Regions from separate parts of the Homo sapiens genome. Here regions 2, 3 and 4 are each linked to region 1. The links are contacts of gene promoters, found by promoter capture Hi-C in blood cells and fetal thymus (Javierre and others, 2016). All regions are on one chromosome and are shown on one strand. The core of a region is centred on a gene start or on the middle of the fragment in contact, and the rest is flanking DNA. Distances in the headings are between cores, read along the strand shown.

Evidence for each region. Contacts are between HindIII fragments. The CHiCAGO score rates a contact against its expected background, and 5 or more counts as called.
Region 2: the fragment with the promoter of VWA1 here is called in contact with the fragment with the promoter of HES4 in region 1 in 1 of 17 cell types (naive B cells); the score reaches 6.0 in naive B cells.
Region 3: the fragment with the promoter of ACAP3 here is called in contact with the fragment with the promoter of HES4 in region 1 in 4 of 17 cell types (endothelial precursors, erythroblasts, M0 macrophages and 1 more); the score reaches 7.5 in endothelial precursors.
Region 4: the fragment with the promoter of UBE2J2 here is called in contact with the fragment with the promoter of HES4 in region 1 in 15 of 17 cell types (M2 macrophages, naive B cells, M1 macrophages and 12 more); the score reaches 10.8 in M2 macrophages.

Annotation. Positions count from the first base shown.
Region 1 is chr1:997,349-1,004,924 of GRCh38, reverse strand. It overlaps HES4 (hes family bHLH transcription factor 4), which reads left to right and starts at 4,828. Exons shown (of 4, transcript NM_021170.4): 1 at 4,828-5,059; 2 at 5,138-5,233; 3 at 5,312-5,399; 4 at 5,493-5,961. The coding sequence starts at 4,952. The coding sequence ends at 5,866. RefSeq lists an enhancer at 2,646-2,785 and silencers at 2,836-3,185, 4,263-4,312, 4,413-4,792, 4,863-5,002, 5,553-5,862. The HindIII fragment of the contact is 9,560 bases long and covers 3,351-7,576 here.
Region 2 is chr1:1,431,116-1,438,691 of GRCh38, reverse strand. VWA1 (von Willebrand factor A domain containing 1) reads right to left here and starts at 3,002. Exons shown (of 3, transcript NM_022834.5): 1 at 2,871-3,002; 2 at 1,208-1,765. The coding sequence starts at 2,943. It overlaps LOC107985729, which reads right to left and starts at 5,459. Exons shown (of 4, transcript XM_017003066.2): 1 at 5,404-5,459; 2 at 4,621-4,729; 3 at 4,290-4,496; 4 at 3,143-4,156. The coding sequence starts at 5,459. The coding sequence ends at 3,542. It overlaps LINC01770 (long intergenic non-protein coding RNA 1770), which reads left to right and starts at 4,119. Exons shown (of 2, transcript NR_125996.1): 1 at 4,119-4,504. RefSeq lists silencers at 2,885-3,074, 2,833-3,202, 3,949-4,243 and enhancers at 4,029-4,088, 3,348-4,091, 5,580-6,323. The HindIII fragment of the contact is 8,860 bases long and covers 899-7,576 here.
Region 3 is chr1:1,301,846-1,309,421 of GRCh38, reverse strand. ACAP3 (ArfGAP with coiled-coil, ankyrin repeat and PH domains 3) reads left to right here and starts at 1,492. Exons shown (of 24, transcript NM_030649.3): 1 at 1,492-1,653; 2 at 5,279-5,336; 3 at 6,141-6,260; 4 at 6,447-6,500; 5 at 7,376-7,434. The coding sequence starts at 1,607. PUSL1 (pseudouridine synthase like 1) reads right to left here and starts at 825. Exons shown (of 8, transcript NM_153339.3): 1 at 702-825; 2 at 450-507; 3 at 149-336. The coding sequence starts at 778. SNORD167 (small nucleolar RNA, C/D box 167) reads left to right here and starts at 4,610; the gene lies at 4,610-4,693. RefSeq lists silencers at 184-313, 324-463, 494-563, 784-1,463, 1,504-1,673 and 2 more and enhancers at 4,648-5,248, 5,249-5,848, 5,849-6,449, 6,450-7,049, 7,050-7,576. The HindIII fragment of the contact is 38,674 bases long and covers 1-5,376 here.
Region 4 is chr1:1,270,117-1,277,692 of GRCh38, reverse strand. It overlaps UBE2J2 (ubiquitin conjugating enzyme E2 J2), which reads left to right and starts at 3,839. Exons shown (of 7, transcript NM_058167.3): 1 at 3,839-4,027. It overlaps LINC01786 (long intergenic non-protein coding RNA 1786), which reads right to left and starts at 3,691. Exons shown (of 3, transcript NR_185846.1): 1 at 3,212-3,691; 2 at 2,394-2,890. RefSeq lists enhancers at 2,355-2,993, 4,184-4,691, 4,692-5,198, 5,199-5,707 and silencers at 3,205-3,254, 3,415-3,994. The HindIII fragment of the contact is 5,565 bases long and covers 635-6,199 here.

The sequences.
Region 1 (7,576 bases), core at 3,579-6,078:
AAAGAGAGGAAGTCAAAGTTGGAGAATTGCTGGTGTGGATTTTGAAGGCATGGCCGGGAGAGTGACAGGGAGCAGGTGTCCCCTCCTGCAGGAAAGGGGTGCCGATGACTTCAACACAGTGAGGTCTGGTCACAAAGCGGGGGTGGTTTTGGTGGAAAAGGAAAGCAGTCTGGGAGTGCCAGTGAGGAGGGACAAGGGCACCCACCTCGTCCTGGTACAGCAGAGAGAAAAGCAGCGCCTGCCGGGAGCAGGAACAGGCTGGGAGGGCATCCCAGACAGGCAGGGTGGGGAGACTCCAGTACCATCCTGCTTGGAGACACAGCTCCCACCGCTGCTGAGAAGGCATGCAGGTGGGGTGGCAGTGGCACCAGCCTGGTGCTGCTGCTTCTGCCTGAGTCCTGGTCTCTCTCTGGCAGCCTGGATTCCTGCAGCCCTGGCCTTCTGTCACTACAATCCCAGCAAACACCCAGGAACAGCTCTGCGCCCACCTCGGCTCTCCGGGAGAGAAACCCACCCCCACCCCAGCCTTGGTTCCTCGGTGGCTTTGGCCCCAGCTGCCTGAGTGCACAGCCCGCTGCCCTGGGCAGGAGTTGGGGACCATGCTGAGGACCACCTGCAGGGGGTGGCTACAGGTCTCTGATGTCAGGAGTCAGTGTGTGAGGGGGGTGTTGAGGGCCGTGGCGAGATGGCAGCCGCCACCTCTGGGTCAGAGGTTGGGAGGGGAGGTCACAGCCAGCACCTCACAGGCCTTTTGGGGACACTGGCTGTGGTCATGGAGTGCGGCCACAGTGGCCCAATGTGAGGAGACCCCCCAACAAGGCTGAGGCCCCCCCAGGTCCAGCCTAGAAGACACCCCGGTTTTCCCCACAGTCTCCCCACTGGCGTGTGAATGTCCTCATCAGTCACCCCCCTTAGCTAACAGGGGGCTGTGCAGATGCCCCGGGGCCACCCGCCATTTGGAGCTTGACCCACTCAGGGCCAGGAGGTCGGCTGGATTTCAGTGGCTCCCAAGAAGCACCCGTTAGATGGGGGGGAGGGGTGGGGAAGTCGCTGAGCCTCTGCCTCTGTGGAAGAGAGGAAGGGATCAGCGAGGAGGGAGCAGGGGTGAGGAGGGAAGGGTCACTCTCCCTGGGTCAGGGCCCCAGCCCACCTCCACTATTCCAGTCTTGAGTGCCGCACCACAAACCACCCCAAAACAGCACGCTCAGCAACCACCCTACTGTGTGCGGGCAGCCTTGGAACGGGGCGCGCTGGGACCTGCGCCGGAAGCTGCTCAGGAGTCTGGAATCCAATGCTGATTCCTCCACGGGGCCTCTCCTTGAGGCCAGGGCGTGCTCCCTCCCAGCACGGCAGCTGGGTTCCAAGAGCGACTGTCCCAGGACAGCGAGGTACGCATGGCGTCTTCCAAGTCAGCCTCAGAAGTCATGTCCTGCCAAACACCCCATTCTTCCCAGCTGAGACTGTCACAGAGTCTCATGTAGAAGGCATTTCAAGATATGGGGATGGGAGATACTATCACGGCCGTCTCTGAAAAACGCAACCTGCCCCCAACCCAGGTGTCGGCACCATCCTGGGCTGCAGCCCAGGATCCACCCCCACACTCAGAGCAAGGGAACCCCAAGGCCCTCAGGAACCCTGAGGCCCCTACCACAAATCGAGGCCAGATTCGAGAGGCAGGGAGGGGACCATCAGAGGCCAAGGGCACAGACCCAGAGAGACAGACACACAGATGGGAGCTGTCCTGTGGCAAAGAAGGTGGGAGGAACACAGTCCCCGGAGATCCTGGAGTGGGCTCCCTGGCAGGGGGCAGGGAGCAGGGGGGTCTCTTCCTCTCCAGAAGAGCAGAGGCAAGTGCTGGTGGCCCCTCCTGCCTCTGCTCAGCAAGGACCCCAGCTGCTGCCCAGGGGCAGGAACCCTGGCAGATGGGCGTGGGTGCTCACTATGAGTTGGACGCCGTCAGTGGCTTTAAAAGTAGAATCTCCTGGCCAGGCACGGTGGCTCACACCTGTAATCCCAGCACTTTGGGAGGCTGAGGTGCGTGGATCACCTGAGGTGGGGAGTTTGAGACCAGCCTGACCAACATGGAGAAACTACATCTCTACTAAAAATACAAAAATTAGCCAGGTGTGGCGGCACACGCCTGTAATCCCAGCTACTCCAGAGGCTGAGGCAGGAGAATCGCTTGAATACAGGAAGCAGAGGTTGTGGTGAGCCCAGATCGTGCCACTGCACTCCAGCCTGAGCGACAAGAGTGAAACTCCGTCTCAAAAAAGAAAAAAAAAAAGTAGAATCTCCTATTAAGACCAGCCTGGCCAACACAGTGAAACCCCATCTCTACTAAAAATACAAAACACTAGCCGGGCGTGGTGGTACATGCTTGTAATCCCAGCTACTTGGGAGGCTGAGGCAGGAGAATCGCTTGAACCCGGGAGGCAAAGGTTGTGGTGCCACTGCACTCCAGCCTGGGCAACAGAGCGAGACGCTGCCTCAAAAAAAAAAAAAAAAAAAAGTTAGCTCCCTTTTACAGATGAGAAAACAGGTACAAGGAGGGGAAGTGAGCCCATCTAAAAACCAGTGAGGGAATGATCAGTCCCAGCCACGCTTGGCAGGGAGGAGACTCACGCCTGTAGTCCCAGCACGTTGGGAGGCCGAGGCAGGAGCATCGTCTCGGGCCAGGAGTTCGAGACCAGCCTGGGCAACATAGGGAGATCCCCATCTCTACAAAAAAAAAATAAATAAAAACGATCCTCAGGCTCCTCCTTCCATCCCGAACTCCCTGCCTGTCTAGGGACTGGGGGAGGCCCAGAGCCCCCCCAAATTTCTTCCCAAGCCGGGGCCCAGGGGCTGGGGAGATTCAGGCCGGCAGCTCCCCTGGGATGACCCCCAGCAGGAGGCGGCGGCGACTGCGGCCACTGGGGGCGCTCGCGGGCTTTCCCGCCCGGGCCCAGCGCTCAGGCCGGGGAGGGACGCGGGACGGGGACACCATCCACACCACCTCCTGGGCTACGGGGCCGGTCCGAGCCTCTCCAGCGCCGAGGCGCGCGCAGAGAGGTCGGGGCAGGAGAGCCGGGGCTTAAGTGCTCGCGGGGCCACCTCCGAGACGCCCGCCCAGCCCCCGCGGCTTTCCCCAGTCGGCGAGGGGCGCGGACAGCCTCTCGGCGGAGAGGGCGCCACCCCCGCTCCGGCCTCGCAGCCCCCCGCGCCCCTGTGCAAGCGGCGGGGTGTGGGGGGCGCCTCAGGGGCACCGCGGAGGGCCGGGGTCAGCGCCGCGAAGAGGGCGCCTTCCCGCGTGGGCCGCAGGACTTTGCTTGGGGCCAGATTAGACGTGGGGTCCGAGGGGAGGGGAAGCTTCCGCACAGAAACCCTGGGTCCAGGTGCCCGGGCAGGGGCGAACCTGCCAATCAGCCGACTCCCTGGCTCAGAAAAGCTCCCCAAAAAGTTCCCCGACTCCCTCCCCGACCAGAAGCTCCCGGTTCTCGCTGGCCCAGCTCCCCCTCCCCACCTCCCTCGTCCCTGCGCCCCCTTCGCACCCTGGGAATGCCACGCCCTCCCTTGAGGCTTCCCCCCTGAGGACCCCCCACCCCGCAGAAGCCTTTGGGACCACCCGGCGTCAAGAAGGCTTTTGTCCACCCAGGCCACCCACCTAATTCGGTTCTCTTACGTGACTGCTGAGTCTGCCATCTGCCTCCTGCCCGGATTGAAAGCCCGGGAGGGTCTCCACACCCGGGCCCAGGCCAGGCTCTCCAGGGGGCTCAGGAAGCCTCCGCTGCACGGACGCGTGAGGCCGCCGGGGACCCCGAGTGCGGAAAGGACCAACGTGCCCCGCAGCGGCATTCGAAATAAAAACAGCAAACACGAAAATAACCACAGCCCTGTTTTACGCAACCTGCCCCTTTGCAGTTATATTAACAGTGGCCCCTCATTTTTCTGTGAGCCCCACTTTGCTGCTGCTGAGTTCGCCAGCGGGTCACCTGGAAGCACGTGGCGACACGGGCCACATGACGTCATCCCAGCAGGCTTGCGTCATCGCCCCGGGTGCCTGGTGACGTCACCAGCCCGCTCGCGTCACGCGCACGTTCTGCTCCTCGTGGTCCGGCCCGGCCCGCGCCATCACCGGCCCTGCTCTGCGGGGCCACCCGTGCGCCCCTTCGCCGTCCGCTGACTCCGCCCTCCCGCCTGCCGACCCGGCCGCCGACCTTCCCCCGGCTCTGTCGCTCCCAAGGCTTTCTGCAGCCCTCCGTGCTCCAGGCCGCACACCTGAGGGTGGGACCCCCGGAGGCCGAGCCGGTGTCGGATCAAACTCGGAGACCGAGCAGGGCCCAAACCGGGACCGGAGTGGGGACGGGCGGAGGAAGCCAAGAGGCTCGAGACCGAGGCTCGCCCACCCCTCGGCGCCGCCGGACCCTGCGCCACTGGGGGAATTTCCTTCCCGACTTCCCGCGCGGCCACAGCCCCAGCTCCGTCCAGCCCCGGCTCCCGGCCCCCTGGGCGGGAGAGTGAGCCCCGAGACTCCGCCCAGCCCCGGGGGTCCCGGGCCCCGTTCGCCCCCAGCGGCCCCTCCCGGCGCGTTGCTCGGCCCCGGCTGCATCGGGGAGCGCGGGATCACCCGGCCCTGTCCCCAGCGGTGTCGGAGGGGGGCGCGGGCGGGGGCCCCGCATGCCATTGTCGCCCGCGGAGGCCGCGCCCGGAGCCGAGGCGTGACTGACAGCGAGCGGGGGAGGAGCGCGGCCGTCGATTGGCTGGGGCGAGTGTGGGAAAGAATGCGGAGCCGGGTTCACACACCCCGCGGCGGCGAGGCCTTAAATAGGGAAACGGCCTGAGGCGCGCGCGGGCCTGGAGCCGGGATCCGCCCTAGGGGCTCGGATCGCCGCGCGCTCGCCGCTCGCCCGCCAGCCCGCCCGTGGTCCGTGGCGGCGCGCTCCACCCGGCACGGGGAGGCGCGGGGCGCACCATGGCCGCAGACACGCCGGGGAAACCGAGCGCCTCGCCGATGGCAGGAGCGCCGGCCAGCGCCAGCCGGACCCCAGACAAGCCCCGGAGCGCGGCCGAGCACCGCAAGGTGGGGTCCCGGCCGGGCGTGAGGGGGGCGACCGGGGGGCGGGAGGGACGCGGGACTCAGCCGGTGCCCGACCCGCAGTCCTCCAAGCCGGTCATGGAGAAGCGGCGCCGAGCGCGTATTAACGAGAGCCTCGCTCAGCTCAAAACCCTCATCCTGGACGCCCTCAGAAAAGAGGTAAGTCGGGGGCGAAGGCCCGAGACCCGGAGTCTGGGTCGCAGCTGACCTGGACCTCCCGCCTATCCCCGCCCCCAGAGCTCCCGCCACTCGAAGCTGGAGAAGGCGGACATCCTGGAGATGACCGTGAGACACCTGCGGAGCCTGCGTCGCGTGCAGGTGACGGGTGAGGCGCGGGCGGCGGCGGCTTGGAGGCGGGGGGAGGGCGCGGGACCCCCGGGACCCGGCACCGACCTCTCCTCCTGTGTCGCTCCCGCAGCCGCGCTCAGCGCCGACCCCGCCGTTCTGGGCAAGTACCGCGCCGGCTTCCACGAGTGTCTGGCGGAGGTGAACCGCTTCCTGGCCGGCTGCGAGGGCGTCCCGGCCGACGTGCGCTCCCGCCTGCTGGGCCACCTGGCAGCCTGCCTGCGCCAGCTGGGACCCTCCCGCCGCCCGGCCTCGCTGTCCCCGGCTGCCCCCGCAGAGGCCCCAGCGCCCGAGGTCTACGCGGGCCGCCCGCTGCTGCCATCGCTCGGCGGCCCCTTCCCTCTGCTCGCGCCGCCGCTGCTGCCGGGTCTGACCCGGGCGCTGCCCGCCGCCCCCAGGGCGGGGCCGCAGGGCCCGGGTGGGCCCTGGAGGCCGTGGCTGCGCTGAGGCTGTGGCCCTGAGACTGCATCGGAGGCGGCGCCCCGTTCTAGGGCCGTGGCCTTTGCCGAGACTGTAGCAGAGAAAACGTATTTATTATTCCAGAGTCTGCGTCACGAGTTTTCTTTCTTTGTCTTGGTGAAGAGTTGACTTTGGGAGCGCCCCGCAGCCACGCCGCGCCGGGGTCCCGCCCTCCTCCCAGGGCCGCGGTCTGCAGGTGGCTGGGGGCGTCGGGCGGGCCCGGGGGGGCGGGCTGGGGGCGGGACCGAGGACTGAGGGCGACCCCTCCGCTCCGCGCCCTCCGCTCCGCGCCCTCCCCTCCGCATCCCTGCAGCCCCGCATGCGCACCCGCCCTCTGCCCCCGCGTTGGGTTTGCCTCGCTCTGCGGTGGCGGTTGTGAGGGGTCCCCCCGGAGGCTCAGGTGGGAAGCTCAACGTCCCTGAGTGCCCAGAATCTTCCCGGTGCTGGAAGGCGGTCGCGCAGCATCGCCGGGCAAGTTACTTTTCGGAGGCCCCTTTCCCGACTCCCAGTCCCCGGACCGCGGAAGGCGGAGGCTGCGGTCCTGAGCGGCGCTGGGATGAGGGCGGCCGCCCTTGGCCCTGAAGACCCCCGCTGGGTTCTCCTGTTAAGTGCAGAGCTGCCCGTGCCCACCGCAGACCCCTCCTCCAGGCGTCTGTGCGGGGGGCGCCCGGCGGGAGCGCGCGGGTCCGAGCTGGGCTGTGGACACCGAGTGCCGGGGCCAAGGACGTCGCTCACGAGGGCGTCGGCCCTGCCCGCAGCCTCCCCTGCCCCGGTAAGGGAGGTTCCGCCTCCCCAGTGGGTGAGGACTGGGGGCTCCTCCCTCATCGTCCCGAGCACGTGCCGTTGTCGACCACCGAGTTACCAGGCAGCGCCGGACGTTCCCCTGAACCAGCGCCGCGGTCGCCATCCCGGTCCCGCGTTCGGGGGGGTCCGGCGCAGTTCGAGGCACTCAGCCGAGGCAGAGGGTCTCCCCCTGAGCCGCACCCAGGGCCATTTCCCAACTGGGGCCGAGTTCACCAGGGCCCACGGGAGGCGAGCGAGCCCTCCCACCAGCACTGGCCCTCCAGGCCCCAGTCTGTGCCTCCATCAGGAGCCCCCCTGGGCCCTCCAGGACACAGCCGTGCACAGCTTGTAGGAGCCTCCCAGGCCCAACAAGCCAGGCCACCCCTGGCCCCTGGCTGCCCTGCCCCCTCCCTGAGCTCCGAGGGCCAGGCCAGTGACCCTGGGCGGGGTAGCATTGGGCTGGGGGTCCCACCCTTGGTCCCCCCAGCAGTCCTACTCTGGGGGTCCTGGTCCCAGGAGAGCCTCAAAGTAGCCCTTCCCCTTGGGAGCCTGAGACCCCATGAGGGAGGCCCCCTTCTCCTTGGGAGCTTGAGACCCCGTGAGGGAGGCCCCCTTCCCCTTGGGAGCTTGAGACCCCGTGAGGGAGGCCTCCTCAGCAGCACAGGAAGGGACGGTCTTCTTGGGGGCAGCTGGAAGCTCAGCGTGGCCGGGGGAGGGGAGTTGCTCAGAGAAGGCATCAGTGCAGAAGGGGAAGGAGGGCCTGGGGCAGCGAAGCTGGGAGTGTGGGGAGGAGCTCAGGGTAAGAGAGGCACCCCACAAAGTCACCCGGGCTGTGGGTCCCAAGAGGGCAGGGCATCTCTCCACCAGGCTCTGGCCTTGAATGCCCTCTCCACTGTGGCGAAAGGGCCCTGCATA
Region 2 (7,576 bases), core at 1,753-4,252, 440 kb before region 1:
AGGTCAGCCCGGCTCTCTGAGCTGCAGCTAGGAGATGGGAGACCACAGGGGCAGGCCCTGGGGTTCTGGAGGCGCTGCCTGCCCTGGGTCCCCAGGAGAGTGTGGGGTGGGGTTCTCCAGAGGGGGACTCCTGGACCTGTGACACCAAGCCCCACATAGCCCTCTGAGTGACCCTGCTGTGGCGAGGCTCATAAATGTCTGCGCTGGGTTAAAGCTATCAGGATCTTCCTCCTGCAGTGCTGGGTGCCTGGGCCACTTTCTTCCCATCCCCCACCCTCAGACCCGGCCTCTTTCCCAGGAGCCCCCACCCTGCTGCCTGGCCCCTCGGCACTGCAGCCTCAGGCTTTTCCTTTGGCTGCTTAAGGCAGCCTTTCCTCCTGGTCCCCTCCAGGCGCAGCTGCACTGGGTGACCTGGGGCCACTAGGGGCCAGACGTCCCTGGGGAAACCTTGGGGAGGGCCGTCCACCCCTCTCCAACCCACAGTCCAACCCCTTCCGGCTCTGGGTGGATGATTAACCCACAGACGGAGACTTGGTGAGATCCCCAGGGTTGGCATTTTTCAGTGGCTGCAGCAGGCTGAGCCAGTGGCCGGTTCCTCATCTCCAGCCCCAGCTCCTTCAGGGCTTGGCTGGGGCAGGGAGGTCCAGAAAAAAAGCCAATGGGAGCTGCTCAGCTCCTGCCTCAGGCCTTCCCTGGTCCGGCCTCTCAGGAAACCCTCACAGTGGGCCTGCAGTCCGAACTAGTTCAAAGCCCTCGGCGGCTGTCCCCACCCAGGAGAGGTGCCCTGTGCTCTCTGGGGGGGCAGTCCCTGACCTTTCTGGCTCACCCCTCTCCAGGTATGGTGGGCATGCTCAGGAGCACATGCTGCCCATCTGCAGAGTCCCCAGACTTGGAAGCTTCTTCCTGGGCCTACACCCGGGCTCTGCACTCCCTGGGGCCTCGAGGTCTGGGCTGGACACATCAGCAGGGAGCTACACCTGGAGGTGGCTACTCAAGCCTGCCCCCGTCTCAGCAGGGTACACGGGTCGCCCAGTGAAGAGTGTGCATAGACAAGCTGCATCACTCAGCCCTGCACCCTAGGGGTACCACAGCCCCGGAGGCCCTGGCCGCTGCTCTGGGGACATGAGATCTTCCCAAAGTCTCAACCCAGCCTCTCCTTCTGCGGCTCCCAGCTAGGGCTCCCTGGGCCCTGCCTCCTCCCGCATACCGAGAATGGAGCCCCTCAGCTCTTGGACAATGATGTGCAGGTCATCCACGTCCACAAAGTGCAGGTGCTTCTCGGCAGGGGCTGAGGCAGCGGCTGACAGCTCCAGGAAGTTGCCTCGGCCGGTGCTGACAATGAACACGGTGACGCCCAGGTCCTTGAGCTCCTGCATGGGGGGGCCCACAGGGTCGCTGGAGCCGCCATCTGTCACCCACACCAGCACTTTGGGCACCCCTGGCCGGGCACCTGATGCTTCAGCAAACAGCTGTTCCTTGGCATAGACCAGCGCCAGGCCAGTGTGGGTGTCACCCATGCGCTGGGCAGAAGCACGCACCGCATCCTGGGCAGCCTCACCCGAGCTGTGCTGGCCGAAGGGGAACTCGGTGTATGGCCGACTGCCCACGTGCACCAGACTGGCACGCAGGGCCCCGGTGCCCAGGGGCAGTGGAGCCACCAGCTGCCCCACAAACTCCCGAACCCGGGAGAACTCGTAGTGAGAGACGCTGGCTGAGCTGTCCAGCAGGAACATCAGGTCCCCTCGGGGGGCTGATGCTGGTGGACCTGGGGGAAAGGAGGAATGCTCAGCCTCAGGTGTGGGCCCCCCAGACAGCCCCACAGCAAGGCAGGGTCCCCCAGGGCCCCAGCTTTCCTTAAGTGGATGCTTGCCTTCTCCCAAAGGTCCTAGGTTGGGGGAAAGAGGAACTCTAAGCAAGAGGCCTGTACTTTTGGGGGTTTCACTGCACACTGGCCATGGGATCTAGGGCTCTCTCTGGGCTTGTGTTATCCCATCTGTGAGAGGGCGACTCTCCGCTCCAAGCCCCCACACCTTCCCATTCCTCACAGACCCTGCAAGCAGGTGGAGCCAAGAGTCCTGGCCTAGGCCCCCAGGACAGGCCTGAGCCGTGGGGCTGTTCCCTCCAGGCATGGCTTTCAGAGGAGCAGCCTGAGGCTGGAGTTCAGCCACGCAGCTCAGCCTGCAGGTGAGGCACCCTGGGCATGCACACAGCAGCAGGGGAAGGTGTCGGAGGCACAGCAATGACCACGCCGGATGGCCTGGCTGGAGCCCAGACCCCGCTTACTAGATGGTGGCCCCTCCCCTGGCCTCCATCCTCCAGCCCACCTGGACTCACACAACAAGATATAACCCCCAGCAGCCTGAAAGCCGGAACAGCCCCTCGCAGGCTTCCCCCTTCCTCCGGGCACCTCCGGGGTGGAGGCTGATGCCCCCTACACCGCCCCTCCCCACCAAGCCAGGGCACCAGCGTGCCTCAATTCTAGTCCCGGCCTTGCGGTTTTCCCCAGTGCGGTGGGGCGACTCCAACTTCCCTACCATCCCTCCACTAAGGGCCCTCGCAAGGGTAGGGAAACTGAGGCAGGGGTGCCCCCTTGACAGACATCTCCCTCTTCCTGTCCAGGCCCGCGATCCCGCAGAGATGCGGGCCGGGACGGCCCCTATGCCCCGGCGCTCACGGACGGTGTCGCCTGGAGCACCTGGGCCGCCAGCCTCAGGTGAGCAGGACGCTCCGCCCGCGCCCCCGCCCGGCTCCCGCAGCCTCCCAGCCCGCCCGCCCGTCCGGAGCAGGGGACAGCGACGGCCTTGCGCGGGCAGCGGCGCAGAGCGGTCACCAGAAGCCCCAGCCCCGGCCCGGCCGCCCGCCGCACTCACCGCGCTCCGCGCCGCTCCGCGCCAGCGCCAGCCGCAAGCTCAGGGCCAGGCCGAGCGCCGTCCAGGGGAGCATCGCGCGCGAGGGACGGGGCGCGCTCGGCAACTCGCTCGCTCGCTCGCTCGCTCGGGGCTGCAGGGCGCGTCACCGCGCGGACCAGGCCGGCCCCGCCCCCGGGAGGCCCCTCCCCGAGCGGCCACACCCACGCCGAGGCCACGCCCACGCCCTCCGGCGCGAGCGGAGGGCCACGCGCACAGACCCCGGAGAGGCGCGCACGAGCGGACCCCGACACGCAGGGACACGCAGCACCAGCCGAGATACGACCGAGGCACGCACGCGCAGGCACGCACACACACACACTCCAGTCTCCCTCTCCCGGCCGAGGCTGTGCGGCCCACGCTCTCCACCCCTCTCCGACCCCCAGCCGCGGGAGCCGAGCAGGGAGGTACCAGGCTAGGCCCTCCCCATGCCCACCACTGCCGTGACTCTGGGTGCTGGGGTCCCAGCAGCCAGGCCCAAGAGAACCCCAGGGGCTGGCGGTGGCACCAAAAAAACACGTCCAGACCGTGGTTTCGCCTTGGCCTCCGCGCTGGAGGCGGATAGGTGTCTGGAGTAACAGGACATGTATCCCAGGGACTGACCAGCAGGGATGGGAAGGACCATGGGGTGGAACTTACAAGGACACAGTGGCTTGAAAGGGGACAGAAGACAGGAATTCGAGAGAGACTCGAAGCACCCACGCCACCTGGGCTTCTTGGAGGAAGAGGCATGGGAGTGGGAGATGGTTGGTTGAGGCCCTGTCCAGTGGGACCACACTGGGCCTGTTACCCATATACCCTACCCAGTGAGGGGCCCAGACTCCAGGACCCAGGACACACCCCCAGCAGGACTGGAGGGTCCCACTGGTGAGACAGGAGCTCTTGAGTCTTGGGGTCTTGGTGAGGCCCAGACGAGAGGTGGCTGGTTGCAGGGGGCGTCCTGAGGGACAGTGGCTCCCAGGGCAGATTTCCCCTGCTTGGGTGGGGCTGGGCCAGCAGTGTCCCCTGGACAGGAGAACCCTACCCCGGCCCTCCCTCGGAGTAGCCATGGCCCTCTTCCAGGGCCTCCTCAGCTCAGAGCTGGGAGGTGGGGGACGTGGGGGGGTGTCTGCCAGGATGTCTCCTCCTTCCCCACCCTCTCCTGGAGGATGCGCCGCGGGAGAACGGATGGGGCTCCACAGGCTTCCTTCCTCCCTTTCAGGCAGGTGAGACACCGCGGGGCCGTGCGGACGGCCAGCACTCGACTTTGCCTAAAAAAGGAAGCAGCAGGCTGAGGCTGAGGAGCTGGCGGCAGGAACAAGGGAGAGCTGTGTCCCCGCCGGCGCCCCCCACCCCCCCTGCCGGGGATCTTGGCAGTGGAGGTGCTGGCTGCGCTCCACAGACCTCAGACCTCGGCTGGGACCAGAAATGCCTGGTGCTTCCGCCTGGGCCCGGTGGGGGGACTTTGGGTCCCCAGAGTGCAAGCTGTACCACTTCGAGGGGCCTCGCCAGGCCCCCCAGCCCCCAGTACACAGGGGCTGCCGTGGAGATGACGCTGAAGGCCGCAGCCGCTGGAGGACCTGGGGTCTGACCGGAAGCTGGCTGCAGACCCTGCGGAGGCACGTCCAGGTAGTCAGGCAGGGAGCTGGGCCGAGGGTCCCCCACCCTGGGGAGGCTCACAGCCAGTGGCCCGCTTGTCCCCCACCCTCGCCCAGCAGGCGGGCCACAGTCACACCTCAGCCAGCCTTGCAGGGCTGACGGGGAAGTTTCCCTCACTTCTGGAAAAAGTGAGCGGGTCTTCTTGGCTGTGACTCAGGCCCTCAAGGAAGCGGCCGCCCTCCTCCCTTCAGCTCGCCATCAGCGGGAGAAGGCACAGGAGGCCTGGCCTCCACCCAGCCTGGGCCGAGCTCAGCCACCTGCCTTGCTCCCGGCTCTGCCTGGAGTCCCTCCAGCTAGGAGACCCTCCCCATCAGCTCTCCCCGTGCCCCTCAGTCTTCAGGACTCATTCTTGTGTCCTGCCCTCCCCCCGCTGTCTCCACCCCGGAGGAGGGACGTGGACAGAGGGTCCCAGAGAGCATGGGGTCAGCCAGAGGTGCAGTGTCAGGGCCCGGGCCGGACTTGAGGCAGACACCGGAGGAAGCACAAATATAACAGCCGGAACCCTCCACTCTCCAGGGAGAAGGGCCCGGGGTAAGAGGCAGAGGCAAGGACGGGTCAGGCCAGATCACAGTGGGTGCTGGCCCCGAGCCCTCTGCCTCCTGCAGGCACAGCCCCTGTCTGATCCTGGTGGCCTGGGGCCCCATGGGGTGGGGAGCAGCCTGGTTTGGCTGCGGCCACCCCGCCCCCACGGTCTGGGCCTGGGCTGTGGGAGTCCCTGTGCCTCACTTCCCGGAGCCAGCCTGCCCTGCCGGTCTGTCTGCAGGCAGGTGGAGAGAGTTCCAGGAAGCTGGGGAGGCTGCTGTCACCCGGGCACCGCCCCTGCCCCCACCCGCCTTTGGGAATGCTCCCTCCTCCGCACAATCCAGGCTTCTGCAGAAGATGAAGGGCCTTTTGTCCCCAGCTGGCTGTGGTCATGTTTGACCCTGGGTAAAAGGGCAACTCCTGAGGCCTCTGACCCCACCCCTGACCCGAGCTGAGGGCAGGACGCCCAGGCCCGCACCCGGCGCCTTTTGTTGCTGTTTTCACGTATCTCACAAACGTACTCAAGCACACACAGGAGCAGATGGACGGGGCGGTGAGGGGCAGCAGTGGTGAGGGGCAGCGGCGGTGAGGGGCAGCGGCGGTGAGGGGCAGCGGTGCGGGCCTGAGGCACTGCTCTGGGGTGTGCCTGAGCCCACCCCACAACAGTAAGTGGGGCAGAGCAGGGGTCACCAAGAGAGCAGGGCCCACGCAGCTCCTAGACTCAACCTGCTCACTGGGGTCAAGGACAGGTCTTGGGGGCCTCGGGGGTCACTTTTCACTTCCCAGGAGCCCAGGCCTGCCCCTCTGGCCCCAGAGCTGACCCCCCTCAGTCCCCCGTGCCAGCAGCAGCTGGGGTGGCGGGTAGACACCTGGCGGGTAGCAGCCTGGGTAGGGGTGGGAGCTGCACCATCTGCGTCTGTCCATCCATCCCTCGTCTGTGTGCTGGGCACAGCCGCGCCCCAGCCTCAGTGCTGGGGACACACAGGCGCCGGGCCAGCACTGCCAGGCTAGGAGGGTGGGCGGTGAACAGCTAGGAAAGATACGGTCTACTTGTTTTCCCTGTGAGAACAGGGGGTCACTGGGGACTCGCACGCAAGGGGTACCCGAGGAAGAGCCTTCCAGGCAGAGAGAAGGAACCGCGAGTGCTGAGAGCAGGGTGGGGTGGGCAGGAGGGGCCTGCGCCAGGACTGCAGGGGCAGAGCAGGCTGGGGGCCTTCGGGAGGGGTGGCCGGGTGGAGGGTGTTGCCGGCCTCGACAGGGGCAGGAGGTTCGTCACAGCGAGGACAGAGCCCGGCCCGGTGGGAGCCGGAGAGCAGCAGGCCTGAATGACCCAGGGTTTCCTAATAGCAGGGCCCCTTCCTTGTGTGGGTCCCCTCACTTTGCCTCTCTGCTGGGACATCCTTCCCTGAAAGGGAGAGGAGGACCACATGCTGCCCCTTCCCCAGACACAGTCCAGACAGGCCCAGGCCACAGCCCTGGGCAGACGCAAAACTCCCAGGGGCCTGGACTGGGATAGGGAGGAGGCAGCAGGGAGGGACTGACCTATGTCCACACACCACAAGGGACTCCCAGAGGCGGGTGGGGCGGAGCTGGGAGCAGGGGCCTTAGCCCTCAGACCAGCCCACTCACCCTGGGGAGTTCCTGCCCCACAGCCTGCCCAGCTTACAGGCCTGGGGGCAGGGGCAGGCCAGCACAGGCCGGAGGGACAGAGGGAGCCACATCTGAGGGGTCCCCCAGCTGCTCACACCGTCTGAGGCTGTGCTTGCCAACAACTCTGCTCCCAGGAAATATTTTGCAAATCAGGAAATGACACCGGGCAAGGTGGGAAGCCCACTGCATCCAGTGGGGTGGGGCCCCTTACTGCCTCCCCTGCTCCGGCATGACGTGTGACAGGGACGCAGATGGGACACACACAGCCACACACACACACTCCGGGCTCCCATTTGGGCAGGGCAGGGGCCTCAGCCACCGGGAAAGAACGCCAAGCAGAGGTCCCCACAGCCACCCTGCAGCTCGGCTGCACCCAAGGAGTTCAGGCCCCTGGGCCAGTGGAGAGCTGTGGTAGAGACTGCAGGAAGAGGGAGGCTGCTCCTGGCCCTCAGGCTGGGGGAAGGGGCTCTGGGGGAAGGGGTGTAGAGGCACCCTCAGGGTGGGGGCGGGCCTGGGGACCCAGGGTCCTGAAGTGGAGGGGTTTCGGTCAGGGACACCATGCTGGGCAAAAGTTGGGAGAGATTCATGGGGTCCAGGTGGGGTCCTGCCCCTGCAGGGGCTAGAAGGGCTGGGCAAAGGCCAACTGTATACCTGGGGCCTTGAGGAGGGGAACCCTGGCTGGGGGCCCCACCTCCCCCTCATTTCATGCCCCCCTCCTGGCTTCCCAGATGGTGGCCGATAAGGGAGCTGCTTAGGATCCATGGAAGGGGCCAGGCAAGAACCCGGGGGAAGAACCCAGGGGCCTCAACGCAGGGCCCGTTCTGTCCTAGGGGGTGGGGCCCCTGCCTTCCAACGTGGGG
Region 3 (7,576 bases), core at 243-2,742, 310 kb before region 1:
GACCCCGCCCGCCCGCGGTGTCACATTGGCTCTCCTTCCCCCTCGAGCTCCGACCAGACAAGGAAGTCTGTCCAGATCTCCAGCCTCCGCCCGCGACAGATGGAGTCGGGAAGGCACAGCCCCAGGGCTGCTTAGGTCGCGGGCTCACCTGATGGCCGGGTGCCGCAGGTGTGTGTTGAGGGCCTCGGCCAGGACCTCGGGCGGGAAGGGCGGCCGGCCTGAGCGGCGCTGGACGTCCAGGTGCGCCGCGTTGCTCAGGGCGTGGACCCCGGCGTCCGTGCGGCTGGAGATGGTGAACCTGACCGGCTCCACGGAATTCAGCCGCTCGGCGGCCTCCTGCAGGACCGAGCCGCGGGGCGGGCGGGTGAGCGAGGCCGGACCCCGGGGACGCGCGGGCGGGAGCCTCCCCCTTACCCCTCACCGGGCGTCCCGTGACCGGCTGAGCGCACCTCCAGGTAGTTCTGGACCCCGACGGCGCGCTGAGTGCCCCTGACGGCCGCGACCCCGCTGCGGGCAGAAGCGGGCGGAGGTTACCGGGGGCGCCCTGCCCTGGGGTCTCCGCCGCCGTCTGAGGCCAGGGCCGCTTCCTTCCCCGAACGTTTGGAACCCGCGTCCAGAGACATCCGCCTGCCCGCCCGCGCCCTCCTTCCCGCCTCCGCCCGGGCCCACGTGGCGCCCGCCGCTGCGCCTGGGAAACCTACTTAAAGTCGGTGCCCACGTACTGGAAGTACACAAGATAGCGCGCGCGCACGGAGCCTGAGGCCGGCGCCGAACTCATGGCGGAGCCCAGCCGGTGGCGTCAGAGGCGGCCTCCAGCGCAGGAATCCTGCGCGCGCGCGGACGCGGCCTGGTCACGCCCCCCCCCCCTCCCCCCCGGCCCCGGCCGCTCTTGCGCCTGCGCGGTGGCACCGCGCCACGGCGGCCAGAGTCGGGGAGCGGAGGCGGGGCCGGGCTTAGGGAGCGGCTGCAAAGTGCCGGCCCGCCGCCGAGCGCAGGCGCTCTACCTCTATCGCGGCGCCCCGGGAGGCGCGCACCAACCACGCGGTCACCCCGCGCTCTCGCGGGCGTGCATTCGTTCACTCGCTCATTCATTCGCCGCCGCCCACACTCCCCGAGCGCGCCCGTTCGCCGCGTTGCGGCCAAGTCCTCCCAGACGTGGTTTTTGCAAACGCCCTGAGTTGCGCAACGGCCGGGATGGTTGGAGCGGGCGGGCCCGCGCCCTCCCCGCGCCCTCCCCGCGCCCCACATTTCCACCGACTGTCCCCGGAGACGGCCGTGGCAGGCCCCGCCTCACTTCCGGACCGGGGTGGTCCCTGGACGCTGCGAGAGGCGTTTGGCGACGCTCCCCGGCGGTGACAGCGGGCGGCGCGCGCGGGCGGCGGACCTTGGCGACGCTCCCCGGCAGTGACAGCGGGCGGTGCGCGCGGGCGGCTGACTTTGGCGACGCTCCCCGGCGGTGACAGGCGGGGCGGGGCGCGGCGCGGCGGCCTCATTCCGGGGCGGGCGGGCGCCGAGGCGGCGCGGGCGGGACGAGCGGTCCGGGCCGGCGCGGCTGCCGCTCGGCGCCGCGGTCCTCGTGCCAGTGAGCGCCGCGGCCGCCGCAGCCATGACCGTGGAGTTCGAGGAGTGCGTCAAGGACTCCCCGCGCTTCAGGTGCGCCGCCCGGGGCCGCCGGGGTGGGCGCAGGCCGGGGGCGTCGCTGTCGCCTTTGTGCCCGGCGGCGGGGTGGGGAGGTCAGCGCCGGGCCGGGCCGCGGCCGCCGGGGAGGGGCTGGAGGACCGGCCTCGGACAAAGCGGCGGCCCCGCCCCGCCATGCCCCGGGGGTTGGAACAAAAGACGCTCCTGCCCTGTGCGGCCGCCCCGGGTGGAGGGCGTGCGCGTGGGCAGCCGTGGGCACCTCGGGACCGTCCGCCCCCGCTCTGTGTCTGCACCTCCACTGGGCTGAGCCCCTCCCGGGCCCTGCAGTCCAGCTCTGGCCAGGGTCGTCTGGGTCCGTGGGGGCGTCGGCCCCTGGTCTCTGACTTGATCCTGTGTCCAGAGCAGCGCGTGGGGAACAGGCAGCTGGAGCCGCGTTTAAGGCCTGGGGTAGGGTGCTTGGAAACGTGAAGTGGTTTGAATGACCCAGGGGCTTGGAGGGGTGGCGGCCGAGAAGAGCGGCGGGGAAGGTCAGGTAGGGGGTAGGGGTTGTGTGCACACCGAGTCTGCATGTTTTCCATCATTCGTGGCGTGCAGGCGTGTACACCTGCGTGAACTACATGTTCACAGACGTGTGCACAAGTGTGCATCGGCTTTGCTTGGTGGACATTTGGCAAACGACAATGGAGGCAAAGAAACCTCTCTGCATCCCCAAGTGCGCACCTGCGTGAGGCCCCCTCCTCTGCACGAGCTCGTGCGGGGTGCGCTCTTGTGAACTTTGCCCCTCTGCGTGCCTCCCTCCGGACACCAGGCCTTGCACAGGACGTGTGGATGAGCTGTGCCACGGGGCTGTGCTTGCTTCTGCATGTAGCCTGCCGATGAGTGCACGCAAGCGTGTGCACACACCACCTGTCTGTGTGGGTTCACGTACTGTGTTAGCCATGTCAGCAATAGACACATCACCTTGTACACGCGTGTTCCATCACTAGGTACACATGTTGATGCGTGTCTGTGCAGTGTCTCCTTGAACACACATGTATGTGTGGTACCAGTGTGTGCAGGCATGTTTGTGCATGAACATGTTTGCACATGTGTGCTTGATTGTGTATGTGTGGGTGTGCACGCGCGCGCTGGGTCTCTTGGGATCTGCTGGCAAGTCAGCATGTGTGTGGAGGCACGGGGAGCCTCTGTATCCCTGGAGCCCTCACCAGGAGGCTCAGGAGCCTTGGAGTGGGAGGCTCAGGGCCAGCCAGGAGAGTGGCCGCCAGCCCTGGGCAGAGGAACTGGGGCCATCCTCTGCTCTCCCATCTTCTGTTGCTGACCTGGGAAAAGGGGTTGAATAACTTGAGCACCCTAGGATCCTGCATTGAGGACCCGGGCTGTGGGGAGGTGTGGGCATGGCCTCCCTGCTGGGGGCTGGACCCTGGCTGAAGCACCCACCTTCTCCCTGGCCCCTCCGTCAGAAGCCTAATGGACCTCCTCCTCCACGCAGACGGCCCTGTACTGCCCTCTTCCAGTCGTGTGGGGGTGCTGGAACCCACTCACCTCTGGGCCTTCTCTCTGGTAACCGGCTCTCATGGGAGCCTGTTACAGGAGCCAGTTATGGGGGCTGTGGGGCTGCAGTAGGTGCCGTAGAGTGACTGCCCTGGGAAAGTGCCTCACCCCTGTGGGGCATGGACTGGAGTGGGGAGATGAGAATGGCCTGGCCCAGTGGGTTTTGGGGTTAGGCTGTGATTTAACTGGGGTTCGAGGGGCTCCCTGAGGCTGTCCTGGGGGCAGGCCCTAAGGGCGTAACTTGAGTTTCCTGGCCTACCGCCAGGTTGGGGGGCCAGGCAGGGTGGGCGGGAAGATGTGGTCTGTAACGTGGAGCCTGGTCGCCCCAGCCCGGGAGAGGGGGACCCTGCCCGCACCCTCCTGGTCTGGGGAGGGCCTAGTGGCAGCCCAGGTGCAGTGGGCCGGAGGCCAGGGGAGCCCGTGTAGGGGAACCGCCTGGCCTCTGTTCAGTGTGCCCCTCCCCTGGGTGGGGCTTCAGGCGCTGAGTCATGGCTTTGGTTGGGGGGCAGCCTCACCCTCCTCCCCGTCCTCCAAGCTGCTGAGGAAATCCTGGGCTGAGCACAGCAGAGGAGGCCTAGGTCCCCAGGACTGAGGAAGGGAGAGCTGAGGGGCTCCCAGCAGTGGGAGCGGCTCTCGGGGCCTCTGCCAGGGCCCACCCTGTCCCCATGAGCACGTCCGTGAGCTCCTGGGTGCAGCCATCCCCCCTTGCTGGCTCTCCAGGGACACGGGCGCCCCAAACCCGAGGGCGGCAGCTCTGGGTGCAGCTGTCTCTGCATCCGGCCCTGCTCAGGGGTGGCTGCAACTCCTGGGGTGTGGCGCTCTCTGCTGCCTTCTCCTGGGAGGATGGTCCCTTCTCTGTTCTGGGATCCTCCAGCTGAGGTAGAGGTCAGGGTCCAGGGGCTGCAGGCTGGGCACTGGCGGTCAGCGGACACCACAGCGAGATTCCCTCCATCGCCCCCTGCTTCGGGATTCAGAGTCCTCTTAGCCCCTTGGGAACAAGAGAGGGCTGCTCAGAGAGGACCTAGTGTCCTTCTGGGGTGGCTGGGACCCTTCAAGGTCCCTGGCTGGGGCAGCCTGGTGCCTGCAGCTCCAGCTCCTAATTGAGGACACGCCCCATGTAAACCACAGGCCCCTCCCCCGAGGCCTGGGACACCGGTCAGGGTAGCAAGGTACGAGGGACTGTAGGCCCTGATGGCCTCTGCTCCTGGACCCCTGCCCTAGACCTGGAGTCCTGGCCCCAGCCCGGGCCCTGTGGTGCCCAATCCCCAGGAGGCCAGATGGCCCGGACAGCCAGTGAGCCGATTGTGTGGAGGGCTGCCGGGATCCTGGCCCTGTTTCCCTGTTGCCTGCTCCCGGAGGGGGTGGTCACGTGCCCGATCCATCTGCCTCCTGTCTTCCGGGGATTCTCCCGCCGAGGCTTCTCTGGTGATGTCATGCCTTAACTCTTCTCTCCCCAGGCAGCCCCACTGTCAGGCTGTCCTGGTGGGAGTGGGCTCTGAGGAGGATGGCCTACCCGTCTTTCCAGCGGACCATGCCGCTTGCAGCTGTGAGGTTGGGGGAGCCGGGGGCGTCTCTCCCCAGCTGGTCTGGGTCCTCCTGGTGCTGCCAGGACCGAGAGCAGCTGCCCTACTGCCCCCACCCTGTCCCACAGTGCATGGGTGCCAGACCTGGATGGGCTGCAGTAGTGCAGTGGGGTGAGGGGAGGTGCCGCAGGGTTGAGGGGCTCCAGATGGGTCCAGGGTTGACTCTGAACTCCTAGAGGAGAGGCGGGTGAGGCTGGCTCAGCCCTTGGTGGGCACTGTCCCTGAGGGACTCCCAGCGGCCGGCTGTCCTGGGAGAGGCTGGTCCAGCCTTCTTCCCCGAGGGCACAGCAGCGGCTGCCTCTGCCTGCCTGGGGTTGGGGGGGCGGGGGGAAGTGCACTGAACCTGGTCCCAGTCCTGCCCCCGTAGCAGGCAGGCGTCTGTCTCCCAGCCTGTTTCCTGAAAGCCCCTTCCCATGGTGGAGCCCCTCAGGGAGGTGCGGGGGGAGGTGAAGCCCCGAGGGGGCTGAGGCTGCAGGTGACCCCAGCCAGCCCCGTTCTTGCTTTAGGGCGACCATTGACGAGGTGGAGACGGACGTGGTGGAGATTGAGGCCAAACTGGACAAGGTGAAGGGCGGGCCTGGAGCGCCCTGTGCCCGGCCAAGCTTGGGATGGCCACATGGCCAGACTCGCCCTCCAGGCCTTACTAAGCCACTTACACCCCCCATATGTGGAGCATGCGTGTGGTGCTCCAGGTCCTGGTCCCTGTGTCTTAGCATGTGTGTTCCAGGGTGCACATGTCACATGCACACATGTGGCTGGCCCTGAGTCTCGTCCCATCTGGGAGGGGCTGGGCTGTGGTGAGTCCCCGACCCACGGTGGCTGCCCGTCCCCTCTGCTGGGCTGGTGACACGGGGACAGCTGCTGTGTGGGCTGAGCCTTGGTGTGGCTGGGGCTGGGGCTGAGAAAGGGGAGGGGGCAACAGGCCGTGGAGGGGGGAGCCGTGTCCATGAGCCCCACATGGGCTGAGAAAGAGGGGGCAACAGGCCGTGGAGAGGGGAGCCGTGTCCATGAGCCCCACATGGGCTGAGAAAGAGGAGGGGGCAACAGGCCGTGGAGCTGGGAGTGGGCAGCCTTATCCATGAGCCCCACATGGGCTGGTTCTGCTGGTCCTGCTGGCCCTGGGTCCCCTGCCTGGCTCCTGGTCCCTCCCAGCCGAGCCGTGGCGGCCCCACCCTCCCCTCCCAGACGGGCCTCCAAGCCCCAGGCAGGCCCAGGCGTGAGGAAGCTGCACCGGGGCACTGAGTCCTGAGTGCCAACGCCCTGAGTGGAACCTACCCTGGGAGCTCTTCCTGCCTCTGAGTGGCCGTGTGTGGTGGCGAGTGCAGGCGCCAGTGCCCACTGTGCTCACCACGCCCCGCTGGCCCACAGCTGGTGAAGCTGTGCAGTGGCATGGTGGAAGCCGGTAAGGCCTACGTCAGCACCAGCAGGCTTTTCGTGAGCGGCGTCCGCGACCTGTCCCAGCAGTGCCAGGGCGACACCGTCATCTCGGTGAGGGGCCGACTGACCTCTGACCTCAAGGTGGGGTTGGGGGAGAGGCCGAGGGAGGCAGCCCCTTGAGGGCGTCCAGGCCAGAAGCAGGCCGGTGTCTGCACCGCCCAGGGGCTCAGAGGGCGTGGCTGGGTGACCTGGGCCCGGATTTGCCATCTCAGCACGGGTTCCCATCTGCTCCTCCAGGAATGTCTGCAGAGGTTCGCTGACAGCCTACAGGAGGTGGTGAACTACCACATGGTGAGCGCGGCCTCCCTGCCACCTGTGGGCTGTGCCTGGCCTGGAACCGAGCTGCGCTGGCTCACCTGAAGGCCGGCGTCGGGTTGGGGGGGGCACGTTTCTGCTCCTCTAGTCGGGGGGGGGGGGAATCCCACATTTTCAAGTCAGTGTGGGGTTGGGGGACAGCCCTGGGGGCTCTGCCGTGTCCCAGGCAAGGGCCACACTAGACCCTGGGGGAGGGGTGGTTTATCCAGGGTTCCCCCAACTGGGCAGGGCTCTCGTCCCAGGCTGGCCTGGCTGCCATTTGGGTCTGGGTGGCCCCCGGGGGCCCTGGCACTGACGTGGATGGACACACAGGACAGGCACCCGTGAGATGTGGGGCTGCAGCCTGGGAACCTGAGCCGCAGACTGAACAGAGGAGGTCCCGAAGTAGACAAGGCAGGATGGCTCAGCCGTCCCTTTGCTCCTGGTTGTGCCCGGTCCTTCTCTACTTCGGGTTCCGATTCAGAGCCCAGGCTCCAGCTCCCCAGGCCCAGCCCCTGGGTGCTCCCGGCTCTGGCTGAGTGCTCCCTGCTGCAGGGATGGGCACCCCAGGGTGGCCGCCCAGGGCCAGGAGGCAGTGGGGCTCCGGCTCAGGCTGTGATGAGGCAGCCTTGGCCTCTGCACTCATCAAGGGCCAGGTGGGACAGAGGGGCAGGGGTGACAGCCATCGCCTCTGAGTGCCAACTCAGGCCTGGGGGCTGCTCCCCTGACCCCCTTGAGGCCAGCCCTGCAGGGTGGGACCCGCCCCTGCATCTGGGCCTGGGGGCAGTGCCCTCTGCTGGTGAGGATGGGGCCTTCCATCTGGGGCTCTTTCGGGACAGACCCCAAGGATCTCTGCCCGCCTCTGCCCCCAGATCCTGTTTGACCAGGCCCAGAGGTCCGTGCGGCAGCAGCTCCAGAGCTTTGTCAAAGAGTGAGTGGCCCCCAGGGCTGGGGGAAGAACACTGAGGCCACGCTCCCTCCCTTGGAGGGGAAGGGGGTCTGGGGCAGAGCAGAGGCACCTTGGGCCCAGGCCTCCAGGCTGTGCAGCGGCTCCACAAGGCAGAAGGCTCAGA
Region 4 (7,576 bases), core at 2,590-5,089, 270 kb before region 1:
CGCCCGGCTAATTTTTTGTATATTTTAGTAGAGACGGGGTTTCACCATGTTAGCCAGGACGGTCTCCATCTCCTGACCTCGTGATGTACCTGCCTCGGCCTCCCAAAGTGCTGGGATTACAGGCGTGAGCCACCGTGCCCGGCCAAAAGTATTGGTAAAGTAATATAAGGAGTGTCTTAAAAACTGTCAGCATACATTTTTGTTTGCATTTATTGATTTATAAGGGGTCAAAACTTGGCATAAGCATTGTAAAACTCTAAACCCAGCTGAAGGCCAGGCATGGGGACTCACACCTGTAATCCCAGAACTTTGGGAGGCCGAGGCAGGTAGATCACCTGAGATCAGGAATTGGAGACCAGCCTGGCCAACATGGCAAAACCCCGTCTCTACTGAAAAATACAAAAATTAGCCAGGTGTGGTAGCACATGCCTGTAATCCCAGCTACTTGGGAAGCTGAGGCCGGAGAATCACTTGGACCTGGGAGGGGGAGGTTGCAGTGAGCCGAGATTGCACCATCGCACTCCAGCCTGGGCGACAGAGTGAGACTCCATCTAAAAAAAAAAAAATTATAGGAAAACGTTCTTTCTACAAAAATTCTTATTATAAGGTAAATAATTTTGTCTAATTCAAAGCTTATTTAAAGTTTATGTATAAAATGAGTTAAAAAGAACAAGGAAATAAGAGAGACCAAGGAAAGTTATAGATATAAAGAGGTCTTTTTGTTAAGTAAGGTTAAAAAAAATAATTTTATATGAGAAAGAATCTTGTATGGTAAATTTTTGTCCTTAAATAAATGACTGGTTGTTTAAAAAAAGGGATGTTCAGCACAAACTAGAAAGTCCACATGTCGTGAACGGTCTGTGTAAGCTGCAATACCTTTGGTAAAAAAGGAATTTATAAAAATGTTACATGATAGATCGGGTGTGGTGGCTCATGCCTGCAATCCCAACACTTTGGGAGGCCAAGGAGGGCGGATCACTTGAGGTCAGGAGTTCAAGACCAGCCTGGCCAACATGGTGAAACCCTGTCTCTACAAAAATATAAAAATTAGCCAGGCATGGTGGTGCATGCCTGTAGTTCCAGCTGCTCAGGAGGCTGGGGCAGGAGACTCAATGGAACCTGGGAGGCGGAGGTTGCAGTGAGCCGAGATCATGCCACTGTACTCCAGCCTGGGCGACAGAGTGAGACTCCAACTTTAAAAAAAAAAATTGTTTTAAGAGGTAATGAATGCTGGTCCATGTCCATTCCTATCTGGCCTACAAAATTTAATGGGCTGTAAATCTTTTAACTGTAAGTCCCTGGGTCATAGGGAGTCAAACTGAGGGACAGGATTGACTGAGGGTGGGCAGCCACACTCGCCCAGCAACGCTGAGACACAATAAAGATTTGGTGGACATGGATGTTGCCTCTGGCAAATCTTGGCCAGAAGGGGGTGAATGTAAACCAAAAATTAAATTCTAAGGCCCCCCCAGCCGTCCAAATGGACCCTTCCTCTCAGCCAAGGGCGTTCCAGTGTTAACCTGGGAACTTGTTCAGGCCATGGCGGGAAGGGGTCGTGGGTCATGCCTCCTCCCTTTTGAAATTCAGGAAAAGCTGACTAGCATTAACATCAACACAGGCCTTAAGTCTGATAGGAAACATTAACAATCTATTCTCTCTGAAGCCGGCAACCCGAGGCTTCAGCTGCGTGGAAAACCACAACCCCTTACTGCAACCCAGACATTCCTTTCTATTGATAATAACTCTTTCAACCACTGTCGGTCAGGATCATTTTGAATCTGCCTATAACATAGAGGTCTCCCCACACCACCCCAATTTATCCTGCTCTTTCAGATTGAACCCGTGTAAATAAATCATGTCTCCCTAAAATGTATAAAAGCGAGCTGTGCCACATGCACCTTGGGCACCTCCCGAGATGTCATGGGTGTGTCCTTAACCTTGGCAAAACAAACTTTCTAAAGGGACTGAGACCTTCCTCAGTTTGCACCCTCCAGGCTGGGTTCTCTGTCCCTCAAGCATCCCCTGGCCAGACAATCCCTGCTGTTCAGAGGCAGCCAAGGCTTTCTGGTCCAACCCTGGGGGCTGGAGGAGGTGGGGGCAGGAGGTGGTAACTGGGTTGGGGGATGTTTTCTTGGTTGCCAAAGCAGAGGGTGCCCCCCGCTGCTCAAGATGCTGAGGGTGGTCCCTGTTGTCCTATTCCTGAAGCTGCCAGAGGAAGTCCCTCCGGAGGGCTGGCCCACAGCAGAAGGGCTGCTCCTGCCCTCAGAGGGCAATCTCAGGGTTGAGAAGGTTACAGCCACCATCTGCCACCAACCTAGCTGCTTGTGCCGATCCCACTGGCCAAGGCCATCGGCTCTATGGCTAGAGGCCTGGGCAGCCTGTGTCCTGCTTACCAGAAGGCCACAGATGCGGGTGGGTGGGGTGGTGGGGTCTTGGCAAGACGTGCTGGCCACACCTGTCCGGGGCACCTTCTCCCTGGGGTGTGACTCAGCCATGCTCCTGAGCAGGGGCCTCTGAGTTGAGCCTCGCTGCAGTCTTCCCAGCTGCAGGGCCCCCACAGGTGTGCTGTCATCGCACACTACTGAGGGACAGACAAGGCAGAGCGGGCCTCCATCTGCCGCGGGCCACAGCCGTGAGTGTGCATGCGAGTGGATGTGCTGGTGCCTGTATCTGCGGCCGGTGTGGCTTCCCTCACATAACTTTCCATGCTGTGAAAACAGTTTGGCCTGCCCTGCATGGGAACGGCAGAGGCCTGAGAGGAGGCAGAGGAAGGAGGCTGGATGCTGAGATGTTCTCCGAAGGTGGAGCCGGTGACGGCAGTAATGGAGGCAGGCTGGATTCCCACGGGCTGAGGCTGCGTGGACACTCCTCCTGGCTTCTGCCCCACGGCCTGCAGCAACGTCTCAGACCCACCAAGGTGTCCCAGAGGGCCAGAGTCAGGGCTGAGCATGGACACAGCCTGCCCTCTGCCCGTAGCCACAGCGGGACTGACCCTCAATATTCAGCCACCTTGCTGACCTGTGGTTGTTCCTGAGAGGCAGTCAGGGTTGGGGCAAAGGAGAGGGCCACAGGCAGCCAGGTGGCGAGGTCCACCTCCTGATCCCCCACCAGGGGACCACCCTCAGCTCCCCGCTGTCCTCAGCGGCCTCTCAGGGAGGCGGTGGGCTGCGCGCCTGCCCCCAGCGTCCCACCCCAGCGCCCCGCCACCTACCGCTCTCTCCCAATGTGTCTGGGGTCAGAGAGAGGTGGAGAGGACGCAGCGCCCCGCGCTTTCTGCAGTCTGTCCAAGGGGAGGTCAGGGGCATCCCGGGGCTGGGCAGGCACCTGCAGGGGAGGGTGCTGCGGCGCGGACGTGGGTTGCAAAGAGATGCCACGCGTGTCACTCTCGGGTCCCTGAACGAGAGAGCTCTGAGCTCCCTGGAGCCCAACCCTCCACTGAGCCTCCAGGGGCCCGGGACGCTCCATGCCCGGGCCGCGCCGCGCCTCCCCTAAGGGCCGGGTGGGGCGTGGGAGCGGAGGACAAGGCGGGAGCCGGGAGGCGGGAGGGTCGGGGTTCTTTCTCCACCGGGGTCGCCCTCAGCCGGGCCTGCCGCCCTGGGCCGTGGCACATGGGGAGGGAAGCGCGCGGCTTCGGGGTCTGGGGCTCTCGCGCCCACTAACGGTGCCCGGAGCCGCCCGCCAGTGCGCAAGCGCCGCCCCGCCCCCCGCCCCATCCCCCACCCCGGGGTCGACGGCGACAGAGAGTCGTGGGCGCGGTCCGCCAGTCTGCCTAGAGCGGCCAGCCCTCCCCCTCCCTCCTCACCGCCCCGGACCGCGCACCGGAAGCAGAAGCTAGGCTGGTTCCGCCCCGCGAGCGGCCATCTTGGAGGCTGAGGCGGCGGCGGCGGCGCTGCGGCGGGTTCGGTGGGCCCAATCCCGGGGCGGTGCGGCTGTTTCGGGCGCGGGCCCCGCTTTTCCGCACCCTGCTCCGGCCTCGACTACGGCGAGCCTGAGCGCGGCGGCGGCCCACGCGCAGCGACAGGGAGAGGTGAGCGCGCTCGCAGGCCTGCGCCGGGTCCTCGGGCCCGCTCGTCCCCCCTGCCGGAGCCGGCCACAGCGGCGGCCCGGGGCTGCTGGGGACCCTGCGCGACGCTTCTCCGTTCGCGCCCGCCGCCCGCGGGGCCCCGGCCCGAGCCTGCCTGCGCGGAACCCGAGGTCGGTTACGGCGGGCTCCCGGAGCTCCGGGTCAGGGTCATGTCGGGGACTTGACCACTCGGCCGGGTTTCCCGTCAGCTGGGACACTTGCAGCTGCCCCAGGACGGGCAGCCTCGATCCTGGTTCGTCAGTGGATCACGGGAGTCTGTGTCGGGGGAGGGCTGCCGTCGAGCCCGCCGTCGCCTCGCCCCTGAACTGTTAGACTCCAGACTGCCCCGTAAACCCCGAGAGAAACGAGCGTGCCCGGGACTGTGCTTAGGGCCAGCGTTTCTGGGAAACCCGGGCGGTGACAGTGGGAGACCACCGCCGGCCGGCGAGTGAGACACGAGCCCGGAACAAGTCTCTAAGCGGCGCCGGGCCTCGCCATCCACACCTGCCAGTTCCCTGCATCCTTTCAGCCCCTGGCCAGGTGTCACCTCCTGGCGTCCTTTTCAGTGCCTGCCACTTAGTGCGTGTGTATTTAACTCTAGTCCGGTTGCCATCCTCTTGCCAGACCCAGATAGGAAGCGGCTGAAAGGTCGGGCCTCAGCCCGGTGGGAGGTGGGCAGCGAAGAGTGTACAGCGGGCTTGGCTGGGGCAGGTCGGTGGCCCCGCGCCCTGCTCCAGGGGAACCAGACTGTGTAATCTGGCTTCCGAAGAAAGGATCGTGAGTATCTCGCTTAGTCTAGCACCTGAGCCTAGGGCGTGGTTGGGTCTGGGTGCCCGGAACTTGCAGTCCGTCATCTGCACGGCCTGGCACCGCTGACCTCCTTAGCAGTTCCACTCTCGGCAGGGATGTGCGTGAGTGACAGGCAGGTGAGCCAGGCAGGTAGGTGAGTGCTTGAGTGACAGGCAGGTGAGCCAGGCAGGTAGGTGCGTGGATGAGTGACAGGCAGGTGACCCAGGCAGGTGCATGTGTGAGTCGCAGGTGAGTGTCCCATTTCCATCGGCCCGGGCTTCCGTCCAGCCTCCGGAGCAGTCTGGTGGAGAAGGCAGAGACTTCCCTGGCAGTCCTGGACCTGGGTGTGCCATGCGCCTGGCCGATGGGTCAGGCCAAGGTTTCCTGCCACATCCCCTAAGCAGGAAAGAGCTGTCCAGACAAAGAGGGACGGGTGAGGGACGCTGGGCAGCCACTGCCTCAGCACCTGGGCACAGCTGCCCTCGGTGATTCACGCTGCTTTAATGCAGTTTCTGTGTGTGAACATTTTTTTTTCCTGTGCCTTTTTGTTTTAAAATCGCCAACTCTTTCTCTCAGCAGGATGATATGCTTGGTGTCCTTTGTCTGTGGGGATGTTTGAAGGGAACCCGAGGCACATATGCTTCAAACTCTGTTCTCACAGTTTGCTTCCTTTGTGGAATTTTTTTTTTTTGATACAGGGTCTCTGTTGGCCCAGCTAGAGTGCAGTGACATGATCTCAGTTCACTACAGCCTCCGGCTCCCGAGTTCAAGTAATTCTCCCACCTCAGCCTCCAGAGTAGCTGGGATTGCAGGTGCCCACCACCACACCCGGCTAATTTTTTTTTTTTTTTTTTTTTTTTTTTTTTGAGACGGAGTTTCGCTCTTGTTGCCCAGGCTGGAGTGCAATGGCTTGATCTTGGCCCACCACAGCCTCCACCTCCTGGATTCAAGTGATTCTCCTGCCTCAGTCACCCGAGTAGCTGGGATTACAGGCACATGCCACCATGCCTGATTAATTTTGTATTTTTAGTAGAGACGGGGTTTTACCATGTTGGTCAGGCTGGTCTCGAACCCCCGATCTCAGGTAATCTGCCTGCCTGGGCCTCCCAAAGTGTTGGGATTACAGGTGTGAGCCACCACGCCCAGCCCCTTTGTGAATTTTTGTTTTCCTTGTCCTTCCTGCTGTCATATTGGGATGAGAAGAATTGGGGGAAATAGCCCCCTGGCCTCCTGGGGGACGTGAGAATGCTGTTCTGTGTGAAGCTCAGGAAGAGTGGCTGGGGAAACAGCAGTTGAATCGTGAACATGATTTTAAAAGCCTCTCCAAGCAGGTATGGGAGAGAAGCTTGTTTGTGACTCATTGGATGGAATCTATTTTATTTTTGCGCGGCTGTCCATGAACTTTCGTTAAACCTGCGGCCTGGCCACTTAGCTAAGCCCAGACCCACCTGCACTTGAATTGTCCAGTGAATTATTTTGTATATGGCAGAGTGTTAGCTTCAGGGTGAGTGTCGAAAGGACAGCCTGTGTGGCGGTGCTGCTTGGGGTCATCACTGTGGCCATCACCAGGTGTTGGCCTGAGGGGAGATCCCTGGCCCATTGGCTTCTTTAGCCAGGAGCTGGGGATGCCACTGTGTGGAAGCACTTCCTTCCCAGGCAGGACTGTAACCCCATCCCTGGTGGGGGCCCTCCTGGGGAGGCACTCCTTAGGCAGAGGAACCCGCTGGGGCCCAGAAGGGCCCTGCGTTGTGTGTGGGGTCACATGGAGGCCAGTGATGTGTGACAGAGTGGGAGGCATTTGGCAGGGAAATCAGGGAGGCCTCTGAAGGCGGTGGCTCTGGCTATGCCGGGAAGGGCCTGGGGAGTTTCCAGTACAGGCTAGGCTGGGAAGCAGCTGTGAGAAGGAGTGTGTCGGTCAGGACTTTGGAGTGGGACCTGGGCCGTGCTGGGTCTTGGGAGTTGGGAACGAGGAGGGCTGGCTGGGGCTGCTCTGTCTTGGGAGCTGGGAATGAGGAGGGCTGGCTGGGGCTGCCTCTGTCAAGGGGCTGGCAGGCAAGAGGACGTGTTGATGTTTATTTGCTTGGCTGTGGAGTATCCTGAAGGGTGGATGGGGGAGTGGGTGATCGGAACAGTATGTTGACTTATGGGTACAGGAGGGCCTTGAAATGGGAAGAGACTAGAAGCTCAGACCTTCTGGACCCACGGGGGGAGTTGGGAGGCTCCTGTGGTGTTGATGGGAGAAGTGATGACATTTTGCGTTAGAGAAGATAATGAGAGTGGGAAGGCTGTGGTGAACAAGGATTGCAAGAGTCAGGGACCCCAGAACAAGAAGCAGGGTTGGGGGTGGTGCTGAGGCCACACATTTGGGAGCACGCGTTGGGTGCCCTGGCTGAGCTCTGCACTCCAGGCCCTGGGTGTGTGGGGTGAGCAGCCAAGCCCTGGCCATTGACATCCTCAGGTTGGGAGCAGACACTAAACAGGCTGCTGGTGGTGGTTCTCTGAGGAGGAATAAACCGGTTAGAGAGGCCAAGTCTGTAGATCTCTTGCAGGTGGAGACTGAAAGGAGGTGGAATGTGTGGCTGTCTACAGGTGTATGAGTTGGTTCTCATGCTGCTATAAAGATGTACCCGAGACTCAGTAATTTATAAAGAAAAGGGGTTTAATGGACTCACAGTTCCGTGTGGCCAGGGAGGCCTCAGGAAACTTACAATCATGGCGGAAGGG